3 separate regions of the Homo sapiens genome follow, and all the other regions are linked to region 3. Evidence: promoter capture Hi-C in human tissues and cell types (Jung and others, 2019). All regions are on one chromosome and are shown on one strand. Each heading gives the region's core, a stretch centred on a gene start or on the middle of the fragment in contact. The rest is flanking DNA. Distances are from core to core; before and after follow the strand shown.

Region 1 (2,700 bases), core at 200-2,699, 49 kb after region 3:
AGAAAGTTGCCACCATCCCTTTTAGACATGAGGAAACTGAGGCAGAGGGAGGTCGGACAGGTAGCCAGAGGTGCACGGACTTCAGAGCTTACTTCCAATCAGAGCCCCATTTTGAGGCTGTAGTTTCCTTTTTCCATAGACGCACATCCTTGGGAATCATTTGTATCCCTTTTGAAATCTGTCTTGGACATAACTGTGTAAATTTTCAGCTGCATGAAAGAGTAGCATTGCCTGACCACGTGTAGGTTTGAGGTCTGAGCAGCCCTTACTGCCTGGGGACTTTGAAGCAGACTCTCAGCTTCTGTGGCCTTCACTTTCTCTTCCAATTATGAGTGGGTGGAATTGAGAAGTGCTACAAATTTAATTTCCAGCAAGACTGAGAAATAAACCAATCTGTTGGACCCAATGTCCTCTATTTGCTACACAACTAATTTTTAATGGTTCAAAAATTATACTTTTCAAGGCATCATCTCTGTACTCTCTTACTTTTGGTGTCAATATCTTTAGAAACTTATCCTCTCAATGTCGTTCTTTGCATTAACGTCAAACTGCCAGAGAGACCAAGTTTTTAAACTTCTATTTTCTTTACATAATTAGTGTATGTCCATTGTAGAAACATTAGAATATTAAAATAATAGATAATATAATTTTTAAAGCACTGGAAATTCAAAAATTCAGTGACAACCACCATTAGTATGTTGGTTTAAAATTCTTCAAGACTGATTTCTTTGACAGTCTTCAAAAAGATTTTAAATTAACATGGGTCAAACTGTGCCGTTTGTTCTTTACTCCTTTTTCCCTTATGCATCGTATGTATCTTTCTGTATGAAGAACTACTTTTTGTGTTGGGGGGGATGGAGTCTGGCTCTGTCACCCAGGCTGGAGTGCAGTGGCACAATCTTGGCTCACCGTAACCTCTCCCTCCGGGGTTCAAGGTATTCTCCTGCCTCAGCCTCCCAAGTGGCTAGGGTTACTGGCACATGCCACCACACCTGGCTAATTTTTCTATTTTTAGTAAAGACGGGGTTTCACCATGTTGGCCAGGCTGGTCTCCAACTCCTGACCTCAAGTGGTCTGCCCACCTCGGTTTCCCAAAGTGCTGGGATTACAGGTGTGAACCACTGTGCCCAGCCTGAAGAACTACTTTTCTGTTACCTTATTTTATTCCGTTACCTCATCTAGCATTCTACTTTATGAATACACTGAAATATACTTCATCAATTCTCTATTGTAATTTCATAAGTTGGATTTTTAAAATTTTGCCTTATAAACATGGTTTTAATAACCATTCTTTACCTAAAACCTTTCACACTGTTAATGATTTTCTTAAGATAAATTCACAGTAGAATTGCTTGACTCAAGACTATATACATTTTGAAGCTTTTGAGAAGGGCATTATCTTTACAATCCTGCTTCATTTTATGTGTGGTCCTATCACTGCATGTTCTCTGCTATTGAAAACACAGCTAACCATCCAGTGTTTGAACGGTCTGCCATTACACATAGCAGTGTCATAAATTCATAAATTCAACCTTAAGAAAAAACTAATCTCATAGCACAAATTTAGTTTTGTAAAGGCTAAAAATGTATTTCAAAATATCTTCTAAATTTTCATAAACTCAGTTAAAAAGCTGACACTTCTGTTCTTTTGTTCATATATTAAATCAATGTATGAAGTGCCTACTACGTGCAATACACTGTGTGAGGCAGTGGTGATATGTAAATGATAGAACATGATCCAGATTTTGAGAAGTCCACCTTTTAGTTGCAGAATCCACGCTTATATTGAGTCTCTGATACATGGTATGAAAAGCATTACAATACATTTACTTTAAAAATAAGATCTCAGTATGAGCAATTTAATATAGCGACCATTATTGTTTCTGATGTGTAACTCTGAGAATTTCGAGATCCACTACCATTAAAGAAAGCTAGGATTGTGTTCGTTATACTAAACGCCAGAGTGCACTACAGAAACATTTCTGCCCCCATGCCACCTACCGCTAAAAAGTAGCCTTTTTATTGCTTCTTGAATATTTCCAGGAACAGATAGCTTACAACTCAACAAGGCAACTCATTCCATTGTTGGATTGTGTCAAGGGTTTGCATATTATTCAGTTTTATAATAGGCACCTGTTGTTTTTACTTTCAGCCTCTGGAGAGATACAGACTATGTCTAATTCAATTCAACTTAATGGATGTATTTTAATGATCTACTATGTTCAGAACATGTTCTAGGTTCTATGGGCTAATTTCTATTTCATATGACAGTATTTTCAATATTTGATTATTGTTTTTCTAAATACACAAGTTAAGTTCACGCCATTCAAGGTAATTGGATCATTAATATAAGTCTGCTAAATCTCTATAAAGCAACACATTTTGGCCTCAGTTGTTGACCACTTACATGAGCTAGTTGGGAAGAATTTTACAATCAATCAGGAAGACACAAGCATTTACTCTTCCCACTTCTGTACATATTACACAACAATTATATTAAAAAGAAAACAAAAGTCATTTGCCCCACACTATTACTAGTTATGACATGAAAAGTCATGCCACGTGTACTAGTTCATTCTCACACTGCCATGAAGAAATACCCGATGATTTATAAAGAAAAGAGGTTTAATTGACTCACAGTTCTGCATGGCTTGGGAGGTCTCAGGAAACTTGCAATCACGGCAGAAGGCAAAGCTGAAG
Region 2 (2,768 bases), core at 77-2,576, 38 kb before region 3:
CCTGAAATACTGATTGTAATGCCAGAATCCTTCCAGATAATAATATTTGATTTCTGATATTGCAAACAGTTATTTTATTTGATCCAAGTTATAATACAGTGAAGTATGAAAAAATTCTGAAAGATTTGAAAAAGTTTGTGCTACCCATCTGAGTTTTCACGACCTATCAAAAATCAGGAGGTTGTGATGCTGTTTGCCTAGTAATCAGAAGACTACTGTTGACACGGGGCTTACTTTAAACTTCAGGACTCGGTGAAAAGCCTTGTTACTTGCTTAGGACTTTACCCAAATCAAAGGAAAATGAAATTAACATAGGATAGGATATGTTCCCACAAAAGCTGCACATGGACATTTAAGGCAGCTTTGTTCATAATTTCTAAAACTTAGAAGCAACCAAGACGTCCTTCAGTAGGTGAATGGATAAACAAACTGTGATGCATCCAGACAAGGCAATATTATTCAGCAGTAAAATGAAATAAGCTGTCGAGCCATGAAAAAACATGGAGGATCCTAAGATGCGTATTACCAAGTGAAAGAAGCCCAACTAAGAAAGCTACAATACTATCTCATTCCAACTATACAGTATTGTGGGAAAGGCAAAACTGTGGAGACAGTAAAACACTCAGTGTTTCTTTAGGGTTGGGTTAACGGCTAAGAATTTTTAGGGCAGTGAAAATATTCAGTATGACACTACAATGGTGGATACATGTATTAGTCTGTTCTCATGTTGCTAATAAAGACATACCCAAGACTGGGTAATTTATAAAGGAAAGAGGTTTAAGGGACCCACAGTTCCACATGGTTGGGGAGGCCTCACAAACGTGGTGGGAGGCGAATGAGGAGCAAAGACATCTTACATGGCAACAGGAGAGTGCAGGGAGGCTCCCCTTTATAAAACCATCAGATCTTGTGAGACTTATTCACTACCACAAGAACAGCATGGTAAAGACCTGCCCCCATGATTCAGTTACCTCCCACTGGGTCCCTTCCATGACACATGGGAATTATGGGAGCTACAATTCAATATGAGATTTGGGTAGGGACACAACCAAACATGTCAGTACATGTCACCATACATTTGTCTAAACCCACAGAATGTACAACACCAAGAATGAACCCTAAAGTGAACTTGGGACTCAGTCAATTTGGGTTCATTGATAGCAACAAGTGAGCCTTCTTGGTGGGACACGTTGATAATGGGGAGGGGATGAGAGTATATGGGTTATATCTGTATCTGCTTCTCAATTTTGCTCTGAACCTAAAACTACTCTAAAAAATAAAGTTTTTTTAATAAAAAATAGGATTTCTTTTTGGAGGGTTGCTTCTAATAGCCTACTGCCAATTGTGCATGCAAGATGATTGAAAATATGGCAGGTGACATTGAGCTGTAAAGTGCACCAGATGATATGGTTTTGCTTTCCCTTTATATGAGTGACAGACCCAACGTTGATAGGTAAAATTATTTAAGTAATTTGCAGACTAGTCTGAATCACATACATCCCAGAAGCATGAAAATTTCGTTATGGCAGTAATGAGAATTTCTTTGCCAGTGAGTACCTACTTCCTACATAAAGTCAAGCCACATACAGTATTGTTATGTGTGTGTGTGAGAGAGAGAGAGAAAGACAGAGACGGAGAGAGAGAGAGAGAGAAAAAGTTCTCTTTTGTCTGACTTCCTTTTGCATGTATTATTAGCACAGTGTCTTTCTTTATGAGAAGTTCAATGATTGAAGGTGTTTATCATCCCATATTCCCCTGGCCACCTGTCCCATCTCCGTACTGCAGGTCTACTACCCACTTCCCATTCCTTTGTCGTTCTCTCTTTTCTTTTTGCCCTTTGGATTTTCCAGATGGCATGTCTAGCACTTCCTTTAGTATTTTAAGCGGACCCTCGCTTGCAGCATTGCTTCCTAGTGCACTGTCTTTTATAACAGAGTTAAAAATAGTTTAAAAGCGGAGTAGAAGCCACAGGATTGGGCCAAAGCCAAAGCCTCTAAACTCACGGGAGCTCAGTTGTTGCTTTAAATTTTGATGTTCATGTTTGTATATGACTCAGACCTCTGTGAAATGACAAGTCTTGAGTTGAACCCCCTAATAATAAGCACAAGATAGATCTTGGTGCATAAACCTGGTAAGCTTCATTCACTCTCAAGCCTAAAATCCAAAAGGTCCATCGCAGCCCAGACATCCTGTCTATAACTTTTTGTCTGTAATTACTTAGGGATTTTTTTGTTTGTTTTCTTCTTTCCTATGGTCTATGATCACCAAGTCAGCTGATACTTAACAAATAGTTTGATGTAGAAATTGACAATTTTATTCACAAAAGTTTTGTGAAGGGAAGTAGTTTTGCTTCCCTCTCTTCCCCTATAATTACTTCTTCCCAATAATTTTTTGATTTTTTTATAAACAAAAAACTACATGATCTAAAAGCCCTGCCCTTGTTTGTTTGTTTATTTGTTTTGCTTTTGTCTGTACTGGTTTGATCTAGAAACAGCAGGTTCTGGGAGACACCAACACAACTCTAGCATCAATTGATTTATGTGACTATACCCCATTACAGCCTTCCTATTTATAGACTGACCATTGTACTATTTTTCTTTTGTTACGGTACCATTAATTTTGGTCAATAATTGTGAATATTCTTAAATATACTTTATTTTTCTAAGGTGGTTTTCACAAAGTTACTCTTTTTTTTTTTCCTATATGAACTGGCACAACTAGAGTGTATTTAGTTGATTTTTTTACATTTTATAATTATTCTCACTCCA
Region 3 (2,796 bases), core at 153-2,652:
CAGGCTGGTTGCAAATGCTCGAAACAGAAATAGGTTTCTTCATAGGCTGTGTTTCAGCATGTCCAACTGTGAGCCTGTGAAGCAGAGCATCGGAGTTCTCTCGAGGTCTGTTGCTTCAGATTTGGTTAGAAATTATTGAATCTGGAGTGTAAAAATCTTGTCTGGGCCTTTTAGGCAGCTTGATTTTAAAACTAGCCCTTCTGCCCCAAGACTTATCAACCGCCCCCCCACCCTGTCCCAAAAGAAAAGCTGAAGTAAGTTCAGTGTTAAAATAATGGTGCTGTCAGGCAGGCAGTCTGCATGTGAGCAGCAGAAAATTAGAAGAATAGAACCATCCATTCTCGTTTCCCCCCGCGACATGCACGCACACATACGTGCACACACACACACACACCACACACACACACACAGACAACACCAGTCAGTGAAGGGGGAAAAGGGTGATACCTTTTTAAAAAATGAAAGGCAGTAAGCCATTATTAGCAAGAGCTATATTGAGCATGCTTGCCAGACAAGCAGCAAAGCTGAGCTCCAGTTCCGCCCAGACATGTGCCTTGCCATTTTCATTTTAATCAGCCTGCTCAGGATGGCTGCTGATTCATTTTGCAGGATGTCCCCCTGGGAGCCAAGGTGGAAGCCTGAGGCGAGCTGCTATTGCATCAATGCAGCACATCAGAGCGAGAGCGCGGAGGCAGAGGGAGGAGAGAAAGCCTTCAGCACCGCATCCCGATTTCAATATGGCTAGTTAGAAGGTCCTGCATGAAACCGAGTCTATTGCAGAAAACATAATGAAAGGAAAGGAAAAGAAAAAAGTCACATTGTCATTTCATTATCCAACTATTCTCTCCCCCAACCCCTTCTTGCCACCAACAGACACACACACGTACACATTTTACAGTGACCATGAAAGATTTCAAGCCACTCTGTGGAAGTGTGTGTGTGTGTGTGTGTGTGTGTGTGTGTGTGTACTATTTACCTGGTAACTAGCTGGGGTGGTATACCTGATTTAGCTGGAGACTTTGATTTGTAGGACTGACAACCTTATTATGCAGTGAGTTTATTATTGATATTATTCTGCTCTCGGTTGCCATGGCCACCTTGTGAGAGACATTCAATTTTCTCTCTTCCATCATCATTATCTATGAGGCCATCTGTTGTGGAAAATGAATTCAGCCTCATTTGCATGACTGATAAGCAATTTTTTTTTTTATCTATTTAACAGAAGGTCATATGCCGGGGATTTGGAGCTTGTGAAAAAAAAATGTGGAAAAAAAAAAAAGCCTAGGAGAGGATGAGTGGGAGCGTGTGCATGGGGGTGTGTGGAAGTCAAACAGATCCCTGAGGCCTGCGAGCCTATCGCGCTGCATTTGTCATTCCTGCCCGGGCGACATTTTTTTTTTCCCTAAGCTACTGCACACTAAACAGTGAGAGAGCTTTTCCCTGCAGTCTTGTTGAAGCACCCCGGGTTTTTTGCTCATTGTTGGTGGGTGCATTTTAATTTTTTCATTCCCTGGACTATGGGTTATGATATCCATACTCACTGAAGACAAAAAGCCACCTTTTCTGCGTCTTGGTGGCATGCATGTGTCTCATCATCCTTTCAAACTTGTGGTGGAACAGGGTTTTCTTCCCTGTCTGTGTATTTTGAGCCAGCACAGTTACCAAAATTGAACTTGTCTTTCGCTTGTGAGCGGTTGTGGTCATTGTGAGGTACGTGATGTTCGTTAGGTTAATTTTTCGGGGAACTTAGTGAGCAGGATGTGTTTTACCGTAGCTCAAGGGCTGAGGCTGCTATTCCATTGTCTGCTCCTTTTTAAAGTTATTTTTACAGCATGGCTGGTAGCTGAAATGTTCCTGGACTGGAGGCTTTGTAATCCACAAAAAAATCTGTCTTTAAACTAAAATGGGTATTAGGTTGCATGACTTAACTGTGATGTTGTTTATTAAGAAAAAAAGAAACAAAAACAAAACGGGGTGCATGTATGGTGTTTGGAGGATAAGAGGATACTGAAACAAAAACTTCCCAGAGACTTTACTGGATTACTTTACATTACAAATGAAGCACATCATTTTATGCAAAGGCAATTAAAATGTTAGCTATTTTGGATGAATTTACCTGATGGTAAGAAGAAAGTTGATTTATATTGTTTAAGTGGAGAAACTCAAATAAAGATTTTTAAATTTAACTTAAATGTTTGAAGTTCATAATAATGAAAGAAAATGTTATTTATAACAGAAATATGTCTTTTTGTAACACCTAAATTAATAAACTAAAAGATTAAACTCTACACTTTAGTTTTAAGATAGATCTGAATAAAGCAAAAATATATATGTAAATATTTATATGAAAGTTAGCTATATAAAATATAGAGAACAGATTTTGAATTTAGTATTAACCATGACAATTTCTTGTACCATCAAAGCTATATAAGCTAAATAATTTCTAAGTTACTTAGAGTAAAACTATTTTATATAAGAGCCTTTTTGTTCAAATGTTTATATTTTCTACTAAACAAAATTAACGTCATAGACCAAAGCATCCCAAAACCACCCTTACTGGCATATGAGGGTCTTTCTAATTGTTCATCTTCATTTAGTGTCATGTAGCTTTAAAAATAATAAAGTCATGTCTCCCATACAGATAAAAATGTAATTATTTTTAAAAGAAAAGAGTTTTATAAAATATTCCTTTTCAAAAAAAAAAACAGCATTGCATTCCTATAAGTTTTCACCTCTCAAGAACTTTGAATCCAAAGTGTTGATTGTAAGTTATAAATGCTACTAAGAGAAACATTC

The links. Contacts are between HindIII fragments. The study calls those that stand out against the background at their distance.
Region 1: a contact is called between a fragment that was not itself captured here and the fragment with the promoter of MYT1L in region 3, in 3 of the 25 tissues and cell types used here (bladder, pancreas and small bowel).
Region 2: a fragment that was not itself captured here is called in contact with the fragment with the promoter of MYT1L in region 3 in 1 of the 25 tissues and cell types used here (adrenal gland).

Annotation. Positions count from the first base shown.
Region 1 is chr2:2,281,226-2,283,925 of GRCh38, reverse strand. The region is part of intron 2 of MYT1L (myelin transcription factor 1 like); the gene reads left to right. Among named protein-coding and RNA genes, the nearest start is that of MYT1L-AS1, 37 kb to the left of the region's middle. The HindIII fragment of the contact is 6,870 bases long and covers 1-2,700 here.
Region 2 is chr2:2,367,792-2,370,559 of GRCh38, reverse strand. No RefSeq gene overlaps it. Among named protein-coding and RNA genes, the nearest start is that of MYT1L, 38 kb to the right of the region's middle. The HindIII fragment of the contact is 5,646 bases long and covers 1-2,768 here.
Region 3 is chr2:2,329,881-2,332,676 of GRCh38, reverse strand. It overlaps MYT1L (myelin transcription factor 1 like), which reads left to right and starts at 1,402. Exons shown (of 25, transcript NM_001303052.2): 1 at 1,402-1,710. The HindIII fragment of the contact is 11,173 bases long and covers 1-2,796 here.